Linked DNA regions of Homo sapiens: all the other regions are linked to region 1. Evidence: promoter capture Hi-C in 16 types of primary human blood cells and fetal thymus (Javierre and others, 2016). All regions are on one chromosome and are shown on one strand. The core of a region is centred on a gene start or on the middle of the fragment in contact, and the rest is flanking DNA. Distances in the headings are between cores, read along the strand shown. Region 1 holds the start of SH3PXD2A (SH3 and PX domains 2A). Region 2 has its middle 10 kb from the start of CFAP43. Region 3 holds the start of NEURL1 (neuralized E3 ubiquitin protein ligase 1). Region 4 overlaps CFAP43 (cilia and flagella associated protein 43). Region 5 overlaps CFAP43 (cilia and flagella associated protein 43). Region 6 overlaps GSTO1 (glutathione S-transferase omega 1). Region 7 overlaps PDCD11 (programmed cell death 11).

Region 1 (3,418 bases), core at 422-2,921:
CCATGATGAATCTCTTCCTCACAAACTCACAGGCTGTCTTGATCCATCATCAGAGAGGACCTGGAGCTGGCCAGCACCCTCCCAAGTTCGGGAGCTCAATATGGAGGGCCCGTTCCAGGTCTACCTCTCATCCCTTCAGGGAATAATCCTTGCTCATGGAGGTAGTGCCCTGTCCTCCCATTTTCCCATCAGCTGAGCAACATTACCAGGTGCACCTTCCCCCAGGACTCCTGCTCCAACATTCACAAAGGTTTTCTGTCATCTTCTCTGACCAAGAAGCTCTGGCCTGGTGCCAAGATCTCTCACAGTCTGAGCCCCCTAGGCCCATCCATCTTTTTTTTTCTTTGTCCCGTGCCATCGTTTGGTGTCCTAGCGCCCTTCCCCAGGAAGGTTGGAGGAATAGTGGGTTACTCTGTATGGAGCAAATATGTGAATAAATAAAGCCTTAGATCTGTGCCTGGGTTCTGACAGTCTAGAGAACGCGCAGAAGAAAGTATTAATGCAATTAGGTCACAAAATTATTTGTCCTCTTTTCAGATGTTTCACATTGGTCCACAGTCACAAAGCTTTATTGTGATTGTGTAACAACTGGAGTAGTTGTGAAAACACTACCCTTTAAATGTTTGAAAGCAGAATGGGAAAAAAATGTTGAACTAGAAGGGGGGAAGCTACATTGAATTAAGTAGTAACTGTGCTCCAAGTCCAGGGACCACGGACAAGTGGCTTGGAAAGTGGGTTTTCCAGACTAGAGGGAGGGGTGAGAATGCCAGAGCCTGGGGCTCACGGTGAGCTGGCCTCCAACCGGGTGGGTTTTCCCACCATTGTATGCTCCTTTCCCTGTCGCCAGCTTGGGGAGGGTCCCCAGGGGAGCCCTGGGCTTAAGGCAGTGGTGTTATGCAGAGTCTGTAACGTTGTCATTGGTAAATGATGCACAGGGTAGTTACACAAGCCCAGATCGATGGACGACTCAGGCAACGAATCGATCACTTTTCCGGGGAGAATTCACCCTTTATGACCTGCAGAGGGTCAGGTGGTTCGTCCAAAGAGGCTCTGGCTTGAAGGATTTAAAGCTGGCCTTTTCCCCATTCCCATCTCCTCCTCGGGGGCCTGGGCAGTAACAGCCGGGTAATAAACTACTTCTCATTAAAGAGATCTGGGGGTGGAAGTTGTAGGGGGACATAAAAGTGGGGACAAAAAGGCACAAATCCGCTCCGAGGCGGAAAGCCAGGATGGGGGCGCGCGGGGCTCACTTTCCCCGCTCCCTCTCCCCCCGAAGCCACCCTGAGTTTTTGTGCCTAGCGAACTAGCCCGGTGCTGCGCCAGGCCGCTGGCTGCGCGCTGGGCTCGGGTGGGGGCTCGTCGGCCCGCCCCTGCCACTGGGGCCGGGCTGCAGCCCCCTCCCCGTCGCCCCGAGCCCCTCCCCCGGCCCGGAGCCCCTCCCCGCGCGCTTCCCCTCTCTCCCCTCCCTCCCTTCCCTTCCCTGCCTGCCAGGCCCTGCCTCCGCCTCCTGCGCCCACAGCCTCCGCCAGCGCCGATCCCCCCGGAGCCCGAGCCGGAGAGCGGCGAAGGGGAGCCGCCGGCCCCTCCCCAGGACGCTGACAGCAGGCTCCGGGGCCCCCGCCCCGTCCCCTCGCCGACGGGACACACCCCCGCCCCTCCTCTGCTCCGCCAGTTCCCGCCGGACCCACCGGGCGGCGGAGAGAGCGAGCGGGCGAGCGCAGCGCGGCGGCCGCGCGGGAGTGAAGGGGCGCGCGGCAGGCCGGCGGGGAGTCCCCCGGGGCGCACGGAGCCCGCGCGCCCTCCGGGACCCTCCCCCGTCCCTGGGCCGGACCTGTGGGCGCCGGGAGTCCGGGCAGCGTTCGGCGCGCCGGGCCGGGGTGGCGGGCGGCCCCGGGACCCCGGCAGCTGGAGAAGGAGCCGGAGCCCGGCCGGGATGAGAAGGTGACGCCGCCGGGGGCGCCACTCGCTTTGTGGGGGAAGATGCTCGCCTACTGCGTGCAGGATGCCACCGTGGTGGACGTGGAGAAGCGGAGGAACCCCTCCAAGCACTACGTGAGTACAGCCCCCGCCGACCCTGCTGGGGGTGGCCCGAGGTCCCGGGAGGGCCCCGGATGGCCCCTTGCCCCTCCCAGCTGTGAGGTCGCGAAGCTAAGCGCCCACTGGGCAGCCAGCAGCCGTGGAGTTTCTTCGCAGGGCTGTGATCTCCAGGGAAGCCTCTTCTGTCCTTCCTCCTTCGCACCCCCGCCCCCCCGGTTTCTTTTTTTGGCATTGGAATTGGCAAGTGGCTGCCCTTGTCTGTTACAACGGTGAAGTCATCTGTCCGCCTTTGATGGATGGTGGGGGGAGCTTTCGTCAACCCCTCACAGAGCAGCCCCGTCGGGAAAGCGCATCTCCTCGGCCCTCCCCAGGGGCCCTGGGCGCTCACGCTCACACAGCCCGAGATGCTTTCAGAGCTCGCCCTGGAGAAGGAAGCCTCGCGCCCTGCCTCCCACGCCAGCTCTGTCTCTGCCTTCCTAGGCCTGGGGCTGGGGGCAGAAGGAAGCCGCCGCCCCCTTGCCCAACCTCCACCCTCCGCGCTAAGCTTTGATTTCCCTCATAAAGCCATTGTGTCCGTCGGTGTGAGGAGAATTGTGGCTTTTCCTTTTATCCCTCCTCTGGACGTGACCCTTAACCGGGTTCATTTCCTCTTAAGTGATGCTCCATCTCCAGACACGAGGAGGCGAATGTTTGCTGTGGTCTCCGAGGAACCGCCCCTCCCCCTTCCTCCCCCAAACTTTAATGAGAAGGGGTTAAGGTTGACTGGGGCAGCTCCAGAGCCTATGTGACAGTTCCCCTTTCATCTCAGCCGGTCCTGTCTTCCCATCCCTCACACCTTAGGAAGTAAACACGGTGTCCTTGACCCCTCTGAGCGTCTGTGCTCCTGTACTTGAGATAGAAGAGACCCAAGCACAGAGGACTGCATGTTATTTGCAAATTGGGTATTTAGAGGAGCAGTTCCAGTGCTCAAAGCATTAATCTTAACAGTTAAAACAGGCGCTGGTTGCTGCCCTGGATTGTACATTGATCTCTGAAGTGCCTTTTCTTCCACTGTTGCAAAGGGACTGGGGTTTGTGGCAATGTCAGCCTCGGGCTACTCTTTTTGCCTTTGTCACCAGTGTAGCTCTGAACTTTGAGTTTCTTTACAGCTGAGCAAATGCGGCTGGGCTCATATGGGGAGGAGGTAAATGTGGAGGCAGGTTGACTAGGCAGGGAGGTGGGTGCCTGTCGGGTCCAGTCCCTGACACCCTTAGAGAGTTGTTTCTTTTGTGTCATCTGGTCCAGCAAGCATTTTCTGCTGCTGTTACAAGAAAGCTCTTTTTGGAGGGCTTGGGTCACCAGGTGGTCAACCTGCTCTGTGGACAGATGTCCCTTTGTATAT
Region 2 (3,762 bases), core at 910-3,409, 390 kb before region 1:
TCTTCCCCTTTTGTTGTCTCCTACAAAGTCTTCCTCCTATGTTATTTTATCTTTCAGTAAGTACTAGTTTCTCAAACATGTACCATAGTGTTACAGGCAGTTAGGCATGAGCAGGGCAGGAGACAGCTCTCCCCCGCCCACTAGGAATGTCAGGTGATGGTTCAGCAATTATCACATTGCCTCTCTAAAAGTGATAAATTGGCAGCTGGAGCCAGGGAGAGGCCATTTTCTGATGGTCCACAATTACTGCACTAAAGTGTTAATTGAATGCGGGCACCAGAGAGAAGCAACTTTCTGGGCATATGCATTAACAGACAAAATGGGCCGGGTGAAGTGGTTCACGTCTGTAATCCCAGCACTTTGGGAGGCCGAGGCAGGCAGATCACCTGAGGTCGCGAGTTTGAGACCAGCCTGACCAACATGGAGAAACCCCATCTCTACTAAAAATACAAAATTAGCTGGGTGTGGTGGCACATGCCTGTAATCCCAGCTACTTGGGAGGCTGAGGCAGGAGAAGAAGCTCTTGAACCCAGGAGGCGGAGGTTGCAGTGAGCCAAGATTGCGCCATTGCATTCCAGCCTGGGCAACAAGAGTGAAACTCGGTCTCAAAAAAAAAAAAAAAAAAAAGACAGTGGTAGAGTATGACCTTCTAGGGGCACTCCCCCAGAAAAGGGCAGAAAGCCTCAGATGGCCATGTGTACAACTTCCTAAACACACTGTGTGTGCTCAGTTCCCAAAGGTAAAGAGGCATTGTGCGTGTGGGCAGCCCACCCTAAGGGAAGAATTATGGGAAAGGGGCTAGCCTATAAAGTCCTAGGATCAAGGTTAAACATTGCGCTTATTCTTCAAGTCGCATGCTTGGATCTCTTCCAAGTGTACTTTCCTATCTTTCTTGTTCTAAAGCCTTTTAAAATAAACTTCCACTCCTGCTCTGAAACTTGCCTCGGTCTCTTTTTCTGCTTTATGCCCCTCAAATTCTTTCTTCTGAAGAGGCAAGAGTTGAGTTACACACCTGTTCTGATTTGCCCCCCGTAACTCAAATACCTTCCACCAGTAAAAATAGTGCCACCCATAGACCCCACAAGGTGTGCCCCTGCCATGGGCCCCACCCTTTAGAGGGCCTACACCACTGTCATGTGGGATCCACCTCTCAACACTCTCCCAGCATGATGTGACTCTGAAGATCTGCCACATGACTTCACGTTAGCCCCATGTCCTTGAAACAAAAGGCTACTGTGTTTGGACACTGTGAGGTTTGTGTGTTGTGCCTCTTTCAACATCAGAGATGGAAACTACTTAAGGAGTATGGGGAGGGTGGGAATGCTTGGATAAGATAAAAGATATTGGCCAGGTGCTGTGGCTCATGCCTGTAATCCCAACACTTTGAGAGGCCAAGGCAGGCAGATCACCTGAGGTCAGGAGTTACAGACCAGCCTGGCCAACATGGCGAAATCCCATCTCTACTAAAAATACAAAGAATTAGCCAGGCGTGGTGGCGTGTGCCTGTCATTCCATCTACTCGGGAGGCTGAGGCAGGAGAATAGGGTGAACCTGGGAGACAGAGGTTGCAGTGAGCTAAAATTGTGCCACTGCACTCCAGCCTGGGTGACAGAGCAAGACTCCATCTCAGAAAAATATATTAAGGAATTTGTTGACTCCCTTTTTCAGAGAGCATGAGTGTATTCATTCATTCAGTATTGCTTTGTGAATAATTAAGTATTGTTTCCCAGTACAATCAAGTGACTATTTTCTTGTGTCTCTTTGATTCCAACTCCATTTGGTTCCAGGGGTTGTCATGAGTTAGTGTGGTATTGGCAATAGCTGCACATGGATGCTGAAGAATGTTTTGCAATATAGAAAAAAATGTATTAGTCCTACATTTCTGTAGGTATGTAGGTCTAGATATAACATGTATGAAGCTTGATACCAATTATTTGACAACTAGATAAATAATAAATATTAGAATTGCAAATTTATATAAAAATATGTAATAAATTTCATTTAAATTAAAAATATTTGCTTTAAAAATTTTTGATTTGAATTTTTAATTTTCAATCTTATAATTTGTATTTGACTTTTAAATTTTAAGAACTAATTTGAAAATAATTGAACAAATGATTTATGAGTCTCCATTAATATTCTTGCCTTAGAATTCTAGGTAAGCGTAATGTGACAATCCCCTCTGTCTTGCAAAATAACCTTCTCATTCTTCTTCATTAAAACATTATTTAAAACCACATGTTCAGTGTGCTATTTTCCTGAATGTTGACCTACAAACCCTTTCTGTATTTAACCTAGTGTAGTTATTTCAGCATCAAGAGTAAAGGAAGCATCTTGGGACACAAAATTTAGTCATAAAGCTATACTCCACAGATATCTCGAAAATATTTGAAGCTTGAAAATGAAGTCTGAATTTGTAGATTAAACGCACCAAATAATAACATTCAGCCATTTTCACTAAGTGGCCCAGGATATCCATAACAATGTAGCCTCTTCCCATATTATTTATTCTAAAACTTTTGGAAATTATGAAGGATTTCCTATTTTTCCTCTCTTTTTCCAGAAAAATGCAAAATTTAAACTAAATGTCCAATTTACTTTGAAATTTACAAGTCTGCTGGAAAGAAGAGTTATTTTCAGACAATTAACTACCTGAATTCAAGTTCATTTGAAACTTGTGAGATGTTGGGCAAAAAATCTTAACTTTCTGAGACTCATCTTTCCTGTCTCTACAATAAGGATTAAATAATACAGGTTTTATAAGGATGTACAATGCCAGGCACAGAGGAGTGGCTTAATATAAGTTAGCTATTATTATACAAACATGCGTGGATGCGGCGGCAGAGCAGAGAGAAAAACTGTGCAGAAGACGTAGACTTTAGGCCAGACGCAGTGGCTCACACTTGTAATCCCAGCACTTCGGGTGGCCAGGGTGGGAATATTGCTTGAGACCAGGAGTTCAAGACCAGCTTGGGCAACATAGCAAGACCCCATCTCTACAAAAAAAAAATAAAAATAAATGCAGACTTCAGGGGCAGGTGAACCCATGATTGAATCCAACTCTGCCTACTAACTAAATGTGTAATCTTGAGTCTCACTCATCTCTCTGAGCCACAGGTTCCTATGTAGCATAGTTGGTGGGAGCATTCAGAATCTATGGAGCTCCAAACACGTAATAGCTGCTTAGTAAATTGTGGTCATCGCTGCTATAAAAGGGGTCAATTGCCATAGAATAACTAGATACTCTCTATCACAGCAGATTATTCCTTTATTTTAAAAACATTAATTATTTACATTTCTTTTTACACAGAGAAACAATGCCAACTTATTTTTTTGACTTTTTGCATAAACAAGGTGCATTTCACAAAAAGCAAATAATTAGCTGATAAACAGGAAACCACTTACTCATCTACTTAATAAAATAAGTTCTAGTATGCTGTATGATTTTTTTCCCATGTTTAAATGGTCATAGAAAACTTAATTAATGGGTGAAAAACTTAGTGAAATTTCATCTTGCAGATTATCTTGGAATTTGGCTGGAACCCTACAGAAGCCAGGACTGAAATGATCCCTTAGTGGGAAATAAGGATTTTTTTGTTCTGTGACTGGCTGTGGACTAGTTTGGTTTTAGGGCTTGCTCCATGAACTTGAATTAACCACTGCTCTTTTAGCCTTTAATACAAGCTGAGTTCTACAAAAGTATAAAACCTCACACTGAGGATTAGGCGTATTCTGTCAAGGACTAGGCTGTTGGTGGCAAGG
Region 3 (3,732 bases), core at 858-3,357, 360 kb after region 1:
TTTAAAGTATCTTGACATGTATTGCCATATTAATTTCCAGAAAGACACAACAAATCCACTGATTTTCCTGAGCCAAGTGAAAGCTGAAGTTCTGAAAGAGCTGGAGTATTAGAATGCAGGACAGTGGTCCTATCTCTCCTCCTCTTCCCTGGTCTTAAAAGTTAACTGTTCAGCAAAAGAAGGGACAGAATTCCAAGTCAAAAGATAGGGGTCTACAGCCTAGCACCTAGCGCCGAGGTCTGGCTGGCTTTGGGAACCTGAAGCAAGCCTTGGTTCTCCTCATCTGTAAAATGGGTATAGTGTGATTAGCTCTGCTCTGCTGACTACCCCAAGCAGTGTCCATGCTCACTGAAAATGTGTTTGAGAAAGTTCGATGCCTTGTGTTAAAGGGCACTATTGTTATCCTTCTCATAACCTGAGGAGCTTAGGAAGTGGGGTATTCTTTCTGAAAGCCCAAGGGCTTCCCTTCCTGGCTTTTAGCCATCATGCCCAGGACAAGTGCCACTGGTTCTGAGGTGACAGAAAAGCACCTTCCGGAAGGAATTTAGTAGGGTCTGAGGGCCCGGGAGGACCCAGCAGTGTCTTCCAAAGGTCAGAGACAGCATTGGAAGATCCAAGACAGGAATGGCAGGCTCCGAATGGGGAGACTGGGCCTAGGGCCACCCTGAGGGTGCTGAGTGGATCTGGGGAGGTGAAGAGCAAAGACATTCCTAGTAAATGTCCCTCTGTTTCAAGGCTCCCAGACCCTCTTTTCTAGGGCTCTGACTGGATATCTGGTCTTTGGGAAAACCAGAAATCAAACTAATTCAATGGATGCAAAAACCCAACGGCTGCAAAGGACCCCAGGAACCAGCAGCTCTGACCCTTTCTTCCAGGCTGCTGTAATCCTGTCCTGAATTTTTAAAACCCTCCCATTGGAAATGCAACTAGTGCTCCCAGCCTGGTCTCTCCAGCCCTAGGGCCGATGGAAAGGAGACCCATCGAGGTGCCTCCCTGGAGACACGGACGACCCAAGCTTCCCTCCTCACTCCCCACTCCCCTATCGACCTGGCAAACATCCTTTCCCATCTCTTCAGGCTCGCCTAAGACCATGGCCTGAGGGGACTCCAGTGACGTTCCCAGTGCCAGCAGACAGAACTGCGCAGACCCCGCGGGACGCCATCCTCCATCACCATCATCGCCGGCTGCCCTCCACCCCCAGCCCACTCCACGGCCAGAGGTGCATCTCCGGCCTCCAGACACGCACAACAGGTGGCGTCTGCCCGCCCTCCCCAACCACACCTCCCTGGCCCTCCACCTGCGCCCCAGTCCTCCAGCAGCGCTCGGCCGGGGAGCCTACCTTTGAGGTTCTGGGGGTGGCCCCGCGGCGCGCGGCTCGGGTTTCCTCGGGGCAGCGAGGGGATACTGGAGAAGTTGTTACCCATGGCATCCGGCCCCAGGAGGTTCGGCGCTCGCGGGTGGGGGCGAGGCCGGGCAGGCGCTGAGGTGCGGTGTGCGAGTGTGCGCGCGCGGGTGCGCGCCACCGGGGGAGGGCCCTGCTGGGGCTGCAGCCGGGGGCGGGCGGGCAGCTCCTCAGCTTCCTTTCTCTGGACTTCGCGGTCCTTGGCGGGTTCCGCCCGCCACGGGTGTCCTGGCGCAGGCTGGGCTACCTGCCTCCCATGCCCCGTGGCGGGAGCGGGGGCCACAAGCAGGGCCCTGGGCCGGGGCCGGGGACGCCCGGGGCTCCCCGCTTGCTCCCCGGGACGCTAGGGTTCCGGCTGGGGGTGGGCGGCGCGGCGGCTCCGGCGCGCTCCCCCGGGGCCATAGAGTCAGGGTCGCTGGCGTGGGCGTTCGGCGGCTCCGAGGCAGGCTCGGTTACCGCCCCGCGGAGACGGCCGCGGCGGCGATGTGCGTGGCTCCCTCCCGCCCGCGGGTCTGCGTGGAGCGGGGCTCGGCGGAGCGCGGGGCGTTCTGGGCGCTCCGACGCAGCTGGTGTCCCCCGACCGCCGCGGTCCCGCCCGCGCCGGGTCCCTCCTGCGACCGCCGCCCCCGCCCCCCGCCCCGGCAGTCTCCAGGATTCCCTCGCTCCGGTTGTTATGGTGACAGCTGCGCCGGTGAATGAGCGTCTTAGTGACACGCGCGCGCCCGCTAGGCCAGATGTGGCCCCGGGGCGCGCCGCGTTCCCGTAGCCGCAAGCTCTCGGCGGCGCGGGTCGGGGTAAGACATCAGGCGAGTATGGTGGCACCCGGGGCTGGCCTTATTCCCAGCACGGAAACATGGAACTTGCACTTGAAAACAAGGGGAGCAGGGCCGCGAGAACGCCGAGCTCCCCGGATGCGGGGGCGGGCGAGCCAGCACTAATGTTCGGTTTCCCTAGCTCCAGGTACCGGGCCTGGCGCAGAGTGGAGAGCCCAGGGAAACATGTAAATGAGCGAGCGGATGCTTGGATAAAGTAATTGAGATTAGAACCCCGGCACTTGACCCTCCGTTCTCAGCCAGGCTAGGGGCACTAGGGCAAGGGTTCAGAGCAGGAACCCCGGGCAGTCTCACTGATGCACAGATGCCACTGAGGGCCTTTGAATGCCCGCGGACCAGACTCACAAGCCTGGAGCTCTGGCCAAGCTGAGGGAACAGATCTCCGGGACAGATCATCAGAAGACCACCAGCTCTGAACTGAGTGGTTCTGTTAGCTATAACAAGGTGGGGGAGAGGAGCCTCTGCAGCCTATGGCAGTCAAAGAAGGCTTCCTGGAGGAAGGGGGTTTCAGCAAGGGCCCTGCTCATGTGGCTAGTGCCTTCCTGTAGCTCAACACTGCACCAAGAAGCCTTCAGGAAGGGAAACAGAAGTCATTCTTCTCCTTCCTGGACCCGGGGCATCTCTCCTGGTCTATCAGGGATGGAAGATGTTCCAAGGTTCCCCCCAGGGAATCAGACTTCCTGCTCCTCTAAGTCATCTCTAGCTCCCTGCTCTGGCTTCAGCAACTCAGATCCAGAGTCCAGTGAAGACATGGGTGGGCAGGGGGACATCTCATGTATCCTTTTCTGTAATAAAGGTTCTTCCCCCAAGTCTCCATTTGGCAGCTCCTCATTATCTAGGCACAATTCGTGTCCTGACATTCCCTGACTGCCCCAACTAAAGGACCCCCTCCACTGTCAGTCACTTTCCACAATATTCCATTTTATTTTCATCATAGCTTTTATATGGAACTTGTTTACAAGTAGCCTTTCCTCGTTTATCTTCTGCCTCCCTGCTAGAACATAAGCTCTGTGAGGGGAGAGCACAGGTCAGTCGTGTTCACCAGGGTGTCCTTACCCACTGGGGGAATGCCTGGCATGTGACAGATTCTCAGAAAATAATTGTGGAATGCATGCTTCCCACTGTGGGCCAGGAGGCTCCACTGAGATCCCTGGGGGCAGAGCCTCCTGAACCACCCTTTATTTTCCTCTCCTACTCTCCTCTCTCCATCCCCATTCCAGGCATTCTACCCTTAAATGTCTGGGACTCCAGGCAAGCTAGAAATATCTGTGACAGCCACTGTCTCTCTGGAATCTGGAGGGAAAGGCAGCCCCGAACCCGGCCTCCAGCCTCCCAGATGCCCAGGATCACGTGTGCAGGCAGCTGCAGATGGCCACAGCAGGTCAGGGATGGCTGTCTTATTTATGGGCAGTATCTTCCCAAGGCTCACTCCCAGCTAATGACTCATGCATCAGAAATCCACAGGCTCTTAATGGCAACACACTCACACATGTGCTA
Region 4 (3,720 bases), core at 42-2,541, 370 kb before region 1:
TGAGCTTAAAAAGCACTATGATAATAGCACAAGGTTGGAGCAACCTACATCTCCAGTATTATGGATATAGTTAAATAAAATATACTATAAAGGGGTATTATGCAAACATTAAAAATCACACTTTTAAAGAAGTGTTAAGATAATGATAAAATGGTCAATATAACGTAAATAAAAAACCAATAGGAGGCAACACTATGATCCAATTCCATTTAAAAATGGATTATCATATATTATATATATATGATGAGACAGAGTCTTGCTCTGTCCCCCAGGCTGGAGTGCAGTGGCGCAGTCTTGGCTCACTGCAACTTCCGCCTCCCAGGTTCAAGCGATTCGCCTGCCTCAGCCTCCCAAGTAGCTGGGATTACAGGTGCTTGCCACCACACCCGGCTAATTTTTGATTTTTAGTAGAGACGAGGTTTTACCATGTTGGCCAGGCTGCTCTCAAACTTCTGACCTCAGTGATCCACCTGCCTTCCCCTCCCAAAGTGCTGGGATTTCAGGTGTGAGCCATCTCGCCCGGCCTCATATATAATATTTAATCTATGGCTAGTATAGCTATAAAAAGCAAAGTTATATTTAAAGAAAATATATATGTATGTATTTTTTCAAGTAAACACAGAAGAAAAGACTAGAAAGAAATTTACCAAGTTTGGTAGTAGGATTATAGAGGGTATATTTTTCTCTCTTTTTTTTTGGCATTTTCTTCAAATACCATATTTTCTAAGATTTAAAGAATATCTAAAGTTGGTCATCTTCAATTGTGGGGGGAAACGTCTGTTTAGCAAGCATTTAAAAATCATTAAGATCTCTGCCTACAGAAAAACTAGTTTTTGTAGTGAATGCTCAATAAATACATTTTTTCTTTGTTGATTAGACTATGCTAAATATATTCAATAAATGACAAAAGCAAAATTTTAGGATTATATTATGGTCAATTAAAATGAGAATGAGAAAAAAAGCAGAAAACAGCTATTAAAAATCCACAGAACAAGCAATAGAGACACAAACATACAAAGACAGACTGAGATGAGGGCAAAGCTTGCACCTGTGGAACCCCACTGAAGAACAGCAGATGAAGAAGAGGGAAAATCAGACCACTCTGTACTGGGAAGCAGAGACAGGCGCTTCTTGTTTTGGCCTCCCCATGATACGCATTTTAAAACATGTTGTTGCTAAGACTTTGGAATTCATGTTGCTTTTTGTCAACTATAGGTACAAAGGAGTATGTCACTTTTTATAGCTGTTCCAAAAGCTGGCAGATATTAAGCTAAGGGCCAGATATGGCCTAAGATAATAGAAATAAGGAAGTAAGCTAGAATTATTACAACTTCCCAAGATATTTAAAGATGTCTGAATAACTATTCTAATTACAATGTCTCATATATTTATGAGATTATTCTTGGGTCATTTCAGACCATGCTGGGACATACATGGTGCGGTATGCTCAGTTCTGCATTGAAGTCTAGAGACAGTAACCTAATGGTCTTAATTCACTTTAATATATTTTACAAATGGATCTTAGCTTTGCTCTAAGCTTTCTGTTCATGGTCTTAGAAATTAGCCAGGATCTTTCTTATTCTAATAGTTAAATGCTTTTGAATTACGTGAAAATCATTAGCAAAGGAAAATAAACTGTAAGACCATAGTTAACTGAACATGGTCTTAACATAATCAAATCCTGATAATGGATTTTATATTTTAGGCAACATTCTCCTGGACTACACTTTACTTTCATTCAGTTACTGTGGCACCTACCTGGCTAGTTACTCCTCTCTCCCAGAATTTGAACTGGCCCTTTGGTAAGTTTCAGCATCCTGTGGAATTCCTTTTACTGGGTTACATTTTCCTCTTACTCTTCTGGATTTTATCGAAGGAAATAGACATGAAAAATCTGAAACAAGGAAATATAGAAGGAAAAAATGCCAATCACAAGTTTTAATACAGTTGCTATGTTTAGGCATAAAATTTGGCAGTCAGAGCAAAAACTATATAAGAACTAAATTAGTTATTGTCATTCTCTTTCATTAACATGCTTTATGTATTCTCAGATAGAGAATATATTTATAAATACATAAAGTTTCACTTAAAAAAAACAAATGGCATCTTGGAGTTGTTCGTATGTTTCCTGCTAATATTGAAATTGAGATGGTCTCTATATTAGAGTTCAGTTTAAAGTAATTGTTGTTAGAGACATTAGAACAATTATATGTTCAGAGAGTGGAACATTATACCACTTTTGCCCACTGTATGGGAAATCCTGTGGTTAAGACACATTTCTAGTCTTTCCTGGATCATTTCACGTGGCCAACTTTAAGGCTATACTCCCTTTTCTATCCATGATATAAGCCCCTTCAAGAGGATATTTTTCTTATTAAGGGGAAGTACAAAATATTCCAGAAATGATTAAAGGATAACATACTAACATTTCTTATACAAAAATGTAAGTACCTAGATTCAGGGAGCCACATTTAGTTTATGTAAATTTTTTTTTTTTTTTTTTTTTTTGAGATGGAGTCTCACTCTGTCCCCCAGGCTGGAGTGCAGTGGCACGATCTCAGCTCACTGCAACCTCCATCTCCCAGGTTCAAGCAATTCTCCTGCCTCAGCCTCCCGAGTAGCTGGGGTTACATGTACCCGCCATCATGACCAGCTAATTTTTTGTATTTTTGTAGAGACGGGGTTTCACCATTTTGGCCAGGCTGGTCTTGAACTCCTGACCTCAGGTGATCCACCCACCTTAGCCTCCCAAAGTGCTGGGATTACAGGCATGAGCCACCGCCCTAAAATTTTTTTAAAACAGCTTTATTGAGGTATAACTAACAGATAATGAACTGTTCATATATAAGGTAAATACTTTGATAAGTTTTGATTTATGTATAAACCCATCACCGTAATCAAGATAATAAATACATCCATCGGCCAGGCGCTGTGGCTCACACCTGTAATCCCAGCATTTTGGGAGGCTGAGGTGGGCAAATCACGAGGTCAGGAGATCGAGACCATCCTGGCTAACACGGTGAAATCCCATCTCTACTAAAAATACAAAAAATTAGCTGGGTATGGTGGCAGGTACCTGTAGTCTCAGCTACTCGGGAGGCTGAGGCAGGAGAATGGCGTGAACCCGGGAGGCGGAGCTTGCAGTGAGCTGAGATTGCGCCACTGCACTCCAGCCTTGGCGACAGAGCAAGACTCCATCTGTAAATAAATAAATAAATTCATCCATCACCCCAAAAGTTTCCTTGTGTTCCTTCAGAGCTTCTTCATTAGCCTTTGTCAGTAATGTAGTTTCTGTCACTCTAGTTTGCATTTTCTGGTAGTTCATATACAGGGAGTGACACAGTGTATATTCTTTTGTCGGGCTTCTTTCATGCAACATAATTATTTTGAAATTATCTTATGTTGCTGCATGTATGTGTCAGTAGTCATTCCTTTCTATTCCATGGTATGGATATACCATACTTTATTCACCTGTTGATGGATGTACTGTATTAGCTTGCTAGGGCTTCTGTAACAAAGTATCACAAACTGAGTGTCTCGAATAACAGAAATGTATTATCTCACAGCTCTGGATACACAGGATAGGAAGCAGCTGGGAAGAGATGACAAGTGCATAAATTCTGATAGTTCCAAAAGCAGAAGGCTCCAATTGTCCTTACTAAGAGCAATCTGTAAATATTAAAAAAGCAGTGAAGTGGAATGAGCACAAATGTGTTAGTG
Region 5 (3,624 bases), core at 757-3,256, 350 kb before region 1:
AACTTAAATTTAAGTATGGAAAGACTTTTGTTTCTGATAATTACCAGAAGTTTTTTTTAAAAAAAAAAAAACTATGCTAACTTATGTTTTAATAAATAAATGACTAACTTAAAATATCTATGGAGAATAGGAAACTAGGAAAAAGATATCATAAAAGAAGGAGGAAAGACCCAAATAGAACTTCTAAAGAAGAAAAATACACTAGCAAAGTAAAAATTAAATGAACATGTCTGACAAAAGGTTGGACATAGCCAAAGAGAGAATAAATGAATTCGAAGATAGATCAGAAGTTATTCAGAATGATACTAGAAAAGCAAAAGGGTAGGAAATACAGAAGGGAACATAAGAGATAAGAACAATACAGTGAAAAGATCTAACATATGTTTGATTAGAGTCCAGAGAGGAGAAAGTGGGACAGAGGCAATAATTAAAGAGATATTGACTGGGGATTTCCCAGAATTGCTTAAAGACATGAATTTACAGATTTAAGAGGTCCAGTGAATCCCAAACAGAATACATAAAATGATATCCACACTTAGACTTACCAGAGTGAAACTGTTGAAAACCAAAGACAGAGAAAATTTTAAAAGCAGTCGGAGAAAAGACAGATTACTTCTAAGGAATTTCAGTTAGACTAATAGCTGACTTCTCTGTGGCAATAATGTAAGAAATAGTGGAATAATATCTTCAGTGTAGTGCAGGGTTCAGCAAATTGTGGCTCCATGGGGCAAAACTAGCCTGCTGCATGTTTTTCAAATAAGATTTTATTGGAACATAGCCACACCCACTAACGTATTGTTTATGGCTTCTTTCACACCACTATGGCAGCATTAAATAGTTGTGGCAGAGACTACATGGTTTGCAAAGCCTAACATATTTACTGTCAGCCTATTTATAGAAAAAGTTTGATGACCCCTGATGTAATGAAAGAAAATAATTACCACCTAGAATTCTATACCCAATGAAAACATCTTTTCAGTATGCGGGTGAAAAAAGACATTTTAGACACTCCAAAGCTAAGAGTGTGTCAGCAGCTGACTATCACTAGAGAAAATTCTAAAGAATTTACTTCAGGCAGAGGAAAATGATCCCAGGTGGGAAGGTCTATGATGCAACAAAAATAAAGAGCAGTAGTAATAGGTGGAGAATGACACATTGTAGAAGATGTACAGTAAATGAACACTGCATACAACAGCAAAAAAAAAAAAATGTGAAAGTAGTTTTAAAAATAATATTGAACTAAAATCCCAAATAACAATAATATAAGTTGGGGGGGGCAGAGCAGGGTATATAGAATAAAGTGTTCCAAGGATCTCATATAACCCAGGAGGAGAATAAAGCTTAAAGTAACTTTTGATGTTGATAAATTAGGTACACATGTTACAACTTCTAAGGTAACCACTAAAAGAATAGGAACAGTAGATGAAATTTCCAAACTAGAGAAAGTGAAATGTAAAAAAAAAGTTTAACCCAAAACAAGGTAAAAAAGAGAAAGAAAATGAAATGCAAAACAATTGAGATAAACAAAAAGCATAAATTAAAATCTATGTTTAAACCCAAATATAAAAAGATGGAAAAAGATATGTAAACATTAACCAAAAGAAAACCAGTGGAAATATATTAACATTAGACAAATTAGGCTTTAAGGTAAAAATCATTACTAAAGATAAATGGGCTTATTTCAGAATAATAAAATATTAAATTTACCAGGAATATATGAATACTTAAAATATGTATGTACCTAATAGCATAGCCTTAGAGATTTAAAACAAAGCATGACAGAGTGACAAGGAGAAACAAAGCATTGATATTAATGGAACATTTTAATACACTTCTTTCATTACATGATAGAATAAACAATGTATTCTCAACATAGCAGCCAAGGTGAGCAAAGCATTTTTCTCTACTAGGCAAAGCCCTCCAGTGATTTCCTGTCATTCTGAGAAAAAGCCAAAATCCTTACTATGTTTTTAAAGGCCCTTCATGACGTGGACTCCAATCCCCACCTCTGGCCTTATCTGCTACTACTGTGAACTCTTGTCCATCCTGCTCCAGCCACACTGGCCATCATGCTGTTTCCTTGAATCTGCCAGACATGCTTCTCCCTCAGAGTCTTTGTACTGGCTTTTCCCTCTGTCTGGAATGCTCTTCCCACAGAATCTACATGGGTAGTTTCCTCATTTCCTTTGGGTCTTTTTTTTTTTTTTTTTTTTTTTTTTGAGACAGAGTCTTGCTCTGTCACCCAGGCTGGAGTACAGTGGTGCGATCTGGGCTCACTGCAACCTCCACCTCCCAGGTTCAAGTGATTCTTATGCCTCAGCCTTCTGAGTAGCTGGGACTACAGGTGTGCGCCACCATGCCCAGCTGAATTTTTGTATTCTTAGTAAAGATGGGGTTTCACCACATTGGCCAGGCTGGTCTCAAACTCCTGGCCTCAAGTGATCTGCCCACCTCAGCCTCCCAAAGTGCCGGGATTACAAGCATGAACCTTCAAGTCTTTTCTCTAAAGTTACCTTTGTTCCCGGACCGAACTGAGGGTTGGGCTGTTTGTTCTCCTGGCCCAATAACGAGATGCAGATGAACTGGGAAAGAAGGGAGTTTATTTCTGTAACCGGGTGCAGGGAGAAGGCTGGGAAAATATCACTGGACCAACTCAATATTACAAAGCTTTCCAGAGCTTATATACCTTCTAAGCTATATGTCTATGTGCAAGTGTGCATTCATCTAAAGACGTAAGTGATTAACTTCTAATATATAACTAAGGCCTGAGTCCTGAAGACCTTCCTCTGGAGCCTCAGTAAATTTACTTAATCTAGATGGGTTCAAGTGCCAGGTATGATTACCCTTATTTTGTCTCCTGCTAAATCATGGAGGTTTGGGGAGTTCCTTAGACCCCCAATAAAGCTTGTTTGTGGAGGTCTGGGGATTTTCTTCAGACCCCCCAATAAAACTTATTTAATTCTAAGTGGGTCCTGTTGAGAATTCCTTCGTTATCTTGTCATGCTTCAAGGCCCAGGAAAGGCCTAGGCAAAACTCTTGGTGGGGTTTTGTTACATTCAAGCGTTTGTGTAAGGGCACTGGCTCTATTAGCTTTTAATATTTAACTTAACCACTCAGTCATTGCTGAAACAGTTGTCATGGAGGCCTGCCTGTTCAGCTGTTAGTGAGACCTGGCCTGCCACACCTTCTCACTGAAGTCTTTCTTAAACATGCACTTTAAAATTTCACCCTCTTATTTTGCTATATAATGTTCTCCTTCTCTGTTATATTTTCTTTTTCTTCTTACAATTATCACTGTTTAACTTACAGTATATTTTATTTGGTTATATTATTTATTGTCTGAATCTCCCAGCAGAAGGTAAGTTCCGTGAGGGCAGGGGATTTTGTCTGTTTTATCCTCTGCTGTAACCCCAGCATCTAAAGCAGTGACTGGCGCTGTGTATCCACTTAATATTTATTGAAGAAATGAAAGAAAGATAACATTAGTAAATATCTACCAAATTTTGAACTCCTATAAAGTCATTTTTTTTAGATAAATAACACCAGAAATATTTATGTTTAACTCAAGTAAGCGTGAAGAACTTGTGATTAGCTGAAAGCAGACTTCTTATTGCTGGTTAAGTG
Region 6 (3,565 bases), core at 607-3,106, 410 kb before region 1:
TTTATCTTAGGAATGCTAGGATGGTTAAACATTAAAAAAAAAAAAATTTGTCAATAGCACCATATTCACCAGATTAAGAGGAAAAAATTCTATGAACATTTCAATAGATGTAACAGATGCAGAAAAACCATTCAATAAAATTCAACATTTATGACTTTTTTAAAAATTAGCAAACTAGTAATAGAAGAGAACTTTATAATGAAAAAAAGGTTTCTGAAAAACCTACAGCAAACATCATGCTTACTGATAAAATGTTAAAATGCATTCCCATGAAAGACAGGAACTATGTCTTCTGTCAGTAAAAACTTCAGGCTTAGCATGAATGAAATATTTCAAGGCCAAGAGACAGACTCCAAGGCCCAAATGTCAGCTGTCCCCAAAAGAAGGTAAAATACATCTGGGCTTCCCTCAAGTGTCTGTACTGTTCATTGCAAACTTTTTCTGGTGGGAAATATTTAGTATGTAATACTAAGTGGACACAGGAAAAAAAGCAGGACACAGAATGATATCTATGCTCTGATTAGAGCTATATTAATTTTTTTTAAATATATGGACAAGGACTGCAAACAAGCATGGAAAACTGGATACATAAAAACTTGTGGAAACGTGGGTACAATTTCCTTTTTCCTTGTTATTTTAACATTAGCAGAATATTTTAAAAGCAAGCCCATGACAAAGTCTGTTTAGGTGTTTTGATTTATATCTTAAGCAGGACAGCTTTCTGCTTTATAACAGCAGTCTGCTGTAAACAAAAATGTTTAGGGGAATTTTCCTAATTACCTTAAAGTGACTTGGAAAGTGGGAATATAAAGAAAAGAATAGGAGGAAAAGGAGGGTAGATATAGTTATCGTTTACTCTGATGATAGCTAGGAGAAATAATTACCTCCTCTAGCTTGGTAAATTCTTTACGAAATTCTTCTTTTAGGCCAGCATAGTCTTCTTTATTTTGGCTTCTAATAAAGCTTCCTACCAAGGATGGCACCTAGACAGAGAATAATTTCTTAGTTTATCAGTTTATGGCTAACTGTATCGGCCCCCTCACATAAAAATATGGTAGAACCCTTACAGTCCTGGTGTCAAGGTGTTCTAGAAACACCAAGGGTGCATCAAGTTCCTGCGCTCACAGAGGTAATGGACTGGTCTTAGGAACAGTTTTGTGGCCTAAAATGCTGGCTTGGTCAGGATTTTATAAATTACAAATAACAGAAGCTACCCTGGCACGTTTAAGAAACAACTTTCTTTCTTTTTTGAAATGGAGTCATGCTCTATCACCCAGGCTGGAATGCAGTGGCACGATCTCAGCTCACTGCAACCTCCACTGCCCGGGCTCAAGCAATTCTCCTGTCTCCGCCTCCTTAGTAGCTGAGATTATGGGCGTGCGCCACCACGCCAGGCTAATTTTTGTATTTTTAGTAGAGATGGGGATTCACCATATTGGCCAGGCTGGTCTGAAAACTCCTGACCTCAGGTGATCCATCTGCCTCAGCCTCCCAAAGTGCTGGGATTACAGGCTTGAGCCACCACGCCCGGCCAACACAACTTTCTTTAAAGGAGACTGAGTGGCTCATAGAATTATTGGGAGGCGGAACAAACAGGCTTGGAATTAAGACAGAACATCCCAAATTCATGCTGAGAAATGGCCTAATGGGAAGCACTCACTGCTGCCAGTCCAAGCTGAGCACCAGATGCTTCAGTTTGTGAGGCTGCCAGAAAGTAGAGTCTGAGATAACTGCTAACACCACTGGCACTGATGCCATTTCTACTCTGGAATTTTATCTTGTAACCCACACTGCTGAAACCCAGAAGCTCTGCCGCTGCTCTCACCAGGAAAACCAGTGGAGAGCTGAATATCTTAAGCAGATATCCCACCAAGCCTGTTTCCTTACCTTGCTCGTTTCTGATTTGAACTCTATGTGTGTGTCTGACAGGAAGAGCCTAGGTCACAAAACTTGGCCCCAACTGCAAAGAGCTAGGGAAGAAAATTTTTCTGATTTCTTTGTTGGGGAGGACACCAGGAGACTGTTCAAAAGGGACCGACTACCTAAAGACTTGATGGGTGTAGCATCAGATGCTTTAATGCTCGTGATGGTGTTTATGTGTTTTAATACTTTGGTCTTTGGTATCATTTTATTGCAAGACGCAGAAGTCCACTCATCCTAGTTTAAGTAAACAGGCACTTGTAAAAATATAGAATCCCATGAAATCCCATCCACATCAGTTCAGCCTGCCTTCACTGGGACTGAAGGCTTTCAGGCAGCCCTTTCATCCACATTTCCACCTGGGTCTGCCTGGTCTTTCGTCTGTTTTTCCTCACATTTCTGCTCCATATTACTTTGCATACTTCAGTCCCTTTGCAATGTTTTTAATTCTTGCTCCTCTAAAAATTTATTTCTTAAGTGGCTTTGGTTTTTCTAGCCTCTAATTAACATTATTTGAGCCCCAACGCTTAGTTGTCTTTACTGTCCTAACCTTTACTGTCTTAGTTCTGTGTCTCATTTCCAAGTTCCCAGGAGAGAAGATAACTGGCCCAGGTGTGTGGGGTGGGGTACATTTCTGTTCTGATGGGCTGTGGCCAGGAGAGCAGGGTCATATGTACATAAAGCCACCTCTCCTTTAAAACCCAAGCAGGGAAGTAAAGGTGGGCATCTTCAGCATTACTTTTAAATCTCATTTTCTTTCTAGATAGTACAATGAATCTCTTGTGACTACTTTTTAAAGTAGTAGCTTTATGCATGAAAGTAAAGCTTCATGTCTAAAAGCTTTACTTTTAAAGCTCATTTTCTCTGACGTGTCCTACAAGTCCTTTCACGATCCAGTTCCTGTTTACCTCTCCAAAGTTACCCCTTTTATCTCTTCTCCTGACACTTTATATTCCAGCCATACTAAAAAAAGTTTTCCAGAACTGGCACCAGACCAAAGAGATTTTTCTTTAAGAACCACTTAGGCTTATTTTTTTTGGTTGGTATTGATGACTTCGTGTCTTGAAGCTGCATGCCTTTAACTTGTTACTACTTTGTAAAACTCTCCCACATCGTTCTTGAAAATGTCATGTTCCCTTTACATTATCTTTCACAGCAGCCGCCTCTACTATTCTTTCACCCTCATCTTACTAAGCAGATGACTCACTCTTCCTGTCCCATTGGCTTCCCTTTATAATGTCTCCTAAAACAGAATGTTTTCCCTATAACTCTCTCTTAGGGCATTTCTTTAACCATCTTTTTCTCTAAAGATAATCCTTTATATACTGACCGTACTACCAAGGTGACAATGTTATAGGCATATAACCAGACATGCTATTCTTGGTGTCTAAACACACATCTTTTAGTCATTTCTTTGTTAATACTAATTGTTTGAACTAATCCACAGTGTTGATGCTAAGTAAGGTACAAACAGTTCTTCTACAGGATTGCTATTTATTCAGTCATCTGAGTTATTGCCAACACAAAGTAGATGCTCACTGCTTGATGCTATGGCTATAAGGACAAGAATTAAGTAGTTCCCATGTGTCAGACTCTGTTCTGGGTGTTTTATATTAACTGATTTTTATCTTATGAGGTGGGAACA
Region 7 (3,756 bases), core at 997-3,496, 420 kb after region 1:
CACAATAAAACACATTTAAAACCACAACCTCATTATCTAAGCCTCAAGAGAAACCAGAGATGATCCTGGCTGTCTCTAGGACTCATTCTTTGTCTTCTCCCAGGCCCTGGGCATGTGTGTGCCGTGCAGTGGTTGTGAGTGGTTGAGAATTTAGGCAGGTAGGTGCTGGTGGCTGGGACAGCTGAGACAGGAGAGGGCAGTTACTATTTTCCAGTCTCTGCCTCCAAGGGCATCTACTGTACTGTCAGTTGACTACTGGATGCAGCTGAAATCTGTCTCCTCAAGTTTAGTTTATTCAGGCTATTAAAACAGTCTTAAAACTCCAATTGGCTGGGTGCGGAGGCTCACTTTGAGAGGCCAAGGCAGGCAGATCACTTAAGCCCAGGAGCTTGAGACCAGCCTGGCCAACATGGTGAAACCCTGTCTCTACTAAAAACAGAAAAATTAGCCAGGCATGGTGACACAACGCCTGTAATCCCAGGTACTTGGGTGGCTGAGGCACAAGAATCGCTTGAACCCAGGAGGCAGAGGTTGCAGTGAGCCAAGATTGCGCCACTGCACTCCAGCCTGGGTGACAGAGCAAGACTCTGTCTCAAAACAAAACAAAACAAGAGCCAAGATTGTGCCACTGCACTCCAGCCTGGGCAACAGAGCGAGACTCTATCTCAAAAAAAAAAAAAAAGAAAAAAACAAGAGACCAATTTTTGCTGAACCAATGGCTAAGACACAAATTTAAAATATCCAGTGCCAATAGTGGTGTGAGAAATGGACAGTCATATTTACTGTTAATGGGGACATAAATTAGCACAGTCATTTTGGAGGGTATGTAACCCATCAATTTCACTTCTAGGAATTTATTTACCAAACATACCTGCATTAGTATCCAAATATATGCAAAAGGGCCAGGCACCGTGGCTCATGCCTGTAATCCCACCACTTTGGGAGGCCAGGATGGGCAGATCACCTGAGGTCAGGAGTTCGAGACCAACCTGACCGACATGGCGAAACCTAGTCTCTACTAAAAGTACAAAAATTAGCCAGGCGTCATGGCGCATGCCTATAATCCTAGCTACTTGGGAGGCTGAGGCAGGAGAATTGCTTGAACTTGGGAGGAGACTGCAGTGAGCTGAGATCGCGCCACTGCACTCCAGCCTACGCACTGCACTCCAGCCAGACTGCCTCAGTTAAAAAAAGGCTGTGTCTCGCGCCACTGCACTCCAGACTCTGTCTCACGCCACTGCACTCCAGCCAGACTCTGTCTCAATTAAAAAAAAACAAAAAACCCAAATATATGTACAAAGATACTTCAACATTATTGTCTATCAAAAAAAGTATTGTCTATCAACAGAGAATTGGTTACACAAATTTCAATTAAAAAAACCCCAGAATACTAAACAAACGTTTTAAAATAAGGTAAAAGGACAAAATAGATTTTGATATATTAGCATAGAAAAGGAAAAAAATTCATGATAAACTATGAGAAAAAAACAGTATATCAAATGATATTCTATTATTTATATAAAGAAAAACTATATATATATGCATTAAAGTCTAGAAAGATAGAAATCAAAGTACATAATGGCAAAAAGTGGTAGAGAAACAGAGGGGTTACAGAAATTTTCATTTTCTATTTCATATACCTGTTTTTCTGATAAAAAGTCATGTATTACAACAACGTTTTTTTTTAAATATACCAATTCCACAGACAGGTGAAAAGAGGAAGAACACTTCGCTTACCTGACAACCTTCTGGGGGACGAAGTCTTCCAGGGGCGTCTCGGAGTAGGAGTCACTCATGTGAAATATACTGACTGTTCCTATCTTCCCAAAGGGGAAGGAGACGGTCAGCCCCTCGTTGGGAGTCACCTTCACCACTCGGCCCATGGCCACTTCCCCTTCCTCAAGCTTGTGAGGACCTGGTGGAAGAACCAACCTGATTCAGGGAAGAGGAAATGAGCTAAGGGAGGAGCGGGAATGCCAGCCACACACAGGCTGGGGAAGGTGGAGGCTGCCCAGACTTGGGGTATCTGGGCTGAGTGATCCAGAACCATCTAGACTGAGATCACCCTGCCATGTAGCCAAGGACCTCAGGGCCAAGTGGTGGACAACTCTTTCCCAGGGACTTGAGAAAAACACCTGTGTAGGTAAGGGTAACCTGTATAGGTAAAGGTAACTCAGAGAGCAGTGGAGTAACTGGGCCAGAGCAAAGCCCAAGAGAAAAACTGTTCCAAGAAGGTCCCACACCAGGCTTTCTGAGGATTCCAATACCGAAGGGGTCCTCCAACTCAAGCAATAGCTGAAAACCCATCCCACCCCTTCCTGCCGCTCCCCTTCCCCGACCAGGCACTGTTTCATCCCCACACCTGTGAGGGACAGACATAAGAGGGTCTTGGAGGAATCTGGGCCAACAACGGTGGCCCTCAGGGCCTGGCCAACCCGGAACTTCTTATCTGGATGCTTCAGAACCTGGAAGGATAAAAAAACTCCTGTGATGCTTGAAGAAAGGCTGTCATTTATCCAAAACCACAGCATTTAAGTCTCCAAAGCAAGTATCTCCCAAAGCAACCCTTAAATAAAGAACAAGCTTCCTCAAATCCACTGTAAACCCACACACCAGGCACTGGGCCAAGCTTAGGGAACTTGGGTCCCCTCTCCAGGGATCTCAAGCACACTGACCTTGAAGCTCAGAGAAGTGAGCAATAAGGGAATTCTCCCCCGGATGTCTGGGGCAATCTCCACCTCAAGCCATTTCTTCACCACATTGTACTGAGGGAAAAAAAGGAACCAGAGTAGGGCAAATACAAATACAAGGTTTCCCGCCATTAAAACTTTCCTAAAACCACAAGGTGGAAAGGGCCCCAGTACACTTTTCCAAGAGACAGGAATCCACCCTTCCATCCCACTGCCCTTGCCCAACCTCCACTTCTCACCAGCTTCCCTCAGACTCCAGCTCAGAACCTTTGCTAGCCTAGCAGAATGTGCATCTCTTCCAGGGTCTCAGCTGACCAGGAGGCAAAAGAGACTCCAGAGATGTCCTCAAACTGGAGAACCAATCCCACAGACCTCTGTAGCCTCCTCCAAGCTCAGCTGTGCCCAGCGATTGTTAACCATCTCCAGAGGCCAATTTTTAATTTCTAAACCAATTTGGATTTGGATCCTTCACTGTTTATGCAGTGTCTTGCCCTAAATATGCACTCCAATTTTCTCCTTTTTTTTTGAGACAGAGTCTCGCTCTGTCTCCTAGGCTGGAGTGTGTGGCGGCAATCTCGGCTCACTGCAATCTCCACCTCCTGGGTTCCAGTGATTCTCCTGCCTCAGCCTCCAGGGTAGCTGGGATTACAGGCGCGCACGCCCCAGGCCCGGCTAAATTTTTGTATTTTTAGTAGAGATGGGGTTTCACCATGTTGGCCAGGCTGGTCTCAAACTCCTGACCTGAAGTGATCTGCCCACCTCGGCCTCCCAAAGTGCTGGGATTACAGGCGTGAACCACCACACCTGGCCGTAAATACATACTCCAATTTTCTAGTCAACTTAACAAATCATTTATCGAGCAGCTACTATGCACATGGCATCATAATGATAAATAAAAGCCAGAGCCTGCCTTCAAGGAGATTACAGCCTACAAGCAGTAAGTCAAATCAGTGTGCAAATAACTACAACAGCAAGCAACATGTAGGAAGTACAACATGCTACAGGAACTAGTAACGAGGGAAGGTTATCTGTGCTGAACCTTGATGGGCAGTAGGCAATTGGAATA

Evidence for each region. Contacts are between HindIII fragments. The CHiCAGO score rates a contact against its expected background, and 5 or more counts as called.
Region 2: a contact is called between a fragment that was not itself captured here and the fragment with the promoter of SH3PXD2A in region 1, in 2 of 17 cell types (M1 macrophages and M0 macrophages). The highest score is 5.8, in M1 macrophages.
Region 3: the fragment with the promoter of NEURL1 here is called in contact with the fragment with the promoter of SH3PXD2A in region 1 in 1 of 17 cell types (erythroblasts); the score reaches 6.7 in erythroblasts.
Region 4: a fragment that was not itself captured here is called in contact with the fragment with the promoter of SH3PXD2A in region 1 in 1 of 17 cell types (total CD4 T cells); the score reaches 5.3 in total CD4 T cells.
Region 5: a contact is called between a fragment that was not itself captured here and the fragment with the promoter of SH3PXD2A in region 1, in 5 of 17 cell types (naive CD4 T cells, non-activated CD4 T cells, fetal thymus and 2 more). The highest score is 9.2, in naive CD4 T cells.
Region 6: a contact is called between a fragment that was not itself captured here and the fragment with the promoter of SH3PXD2A in region 1, in 2 of 17 cell types (megakaryocytes and M1 macrophages). The highest score is 6.1, in megakaryocytes.
Region 7: a contact is called between a fragment that was not itself captured here and the fragment with the promoter of SH3PXD2A in region 1, in 1 of 17 cell types (M1 macrophages). The highest score is 5.1, in M1 macrophages.

What each region holds. Positions count from the first base shown.
Region 1 is chr10:103,853,829-103,857,246 of GRCh38, reverse strand. It overlaps SH3PXD2A (SH3 and PX domains 2A), which reads left to right and starts at 1,671. Exons shown (of 15, transcript NM_001394015.1): 1 at 1,671-2,052. The coding sequence starts at 1,981. The HindIII fragment of the contact is 2,015 bases long and covers 569-2,583 here.
Region 2 is chr10:104,240,738-104,244,499 of GRCh38, reverse strand. No RefSeq gene overlaps it. Among named protein-coding and RNA genes, the nearest start is that of CFAP43, 10 kb to the right of the region's middle. RefSeq lists an enhancer at 1,075-1,369. The HindIII fragment of the contact is 475 bases long and covers 1,922-2,396 here.
Region 3 is chr10:103,492,080-103,495,811 of GRCh38, reverse strand. NEURL1 (neuralized E3 ubiquitin protein ligase 1) reads right to left here and starts at 2,107. Exons shown (of 6, transcript NM_004210.5): 1 at 1,340-2,107. The coding sequence starts at 1,424. NEURL1-AS1 (NEURL1 antisense RNA 1) reads left to right here. Exons shown (of 4, transcript NR_120675.1): 3 at 1,077-1,251. RefSeq lists silencers at 1,429-1,528, 1,609-1,738, 1,749-1,898 and an enhancer at 1,213-1,762. The HindIII fragment of the contact is 3,415 bases long and covers 1,018-3,732 here.
Region 4 is chr10:104,223,543-104,227,262 of GRCh38, reverse strand. CFAP43 (cilia and flagella associated protein 43) reads left to right here. Exons shown (of 38, transcript NM_025145.7): 3 at 1,706-1,802. Among named protein-coding and RNA genes, the nearest start is that of MIR609, 6.5 kb to the right of the region's middle. The HindIII fragment of the contact is 496 bases long and covers 1,044-1,539 here.
Region 5 is chr10:104,199,266-104,202,889 of GRCh38, reverse strand. All of the region lies in intron 8 of CFAP43 (cilia and flagella associated protein 43), which reads left to right. Among named protein-coding and RNA genes, the nearest start is that of MIR609, 18 kb to the left of the region's middle. The HindIII fragment of the contact is 1,327 bases long and covers 1,343-2,669 here.
Region 6 is chr10:104,260,397-104,263,961 of GRCh38, reverse strand. GSTO1 (glutathione S-transferase omega 1) reads right to left here. Exons shown (of 6, transcript NM_004832.3): 4 at 885-983. All of the region lies in intron 1 of LOC124902497 (a long non-coding RNA gene), which reads left to right. Among named protein-coding and RNA genes, the nearest start is that of MIR4482, 6.2 kb to the left of the region's middle. The HindIII fragment of the contact is 1,782 bases long and covers 966-2,747 here.
Region 7 is chr10:103,432,957-103,436,712 of GRCh38, reverse strand. PDCD11 (programmed cell death 11) reads right to left here. Exons shown (of 36, transcript NM_014976.2): 23 at 2,676-2,765; 24 at 2,363-2,465; 25 at 1,738-1,915. Among named protein-coding and RNA genes, the nearest start is that of CALHM2, 18 kb to the left of the region's middle. The HindIII fragment of the contact is 679 bases long and covers 1,907-2,585 here.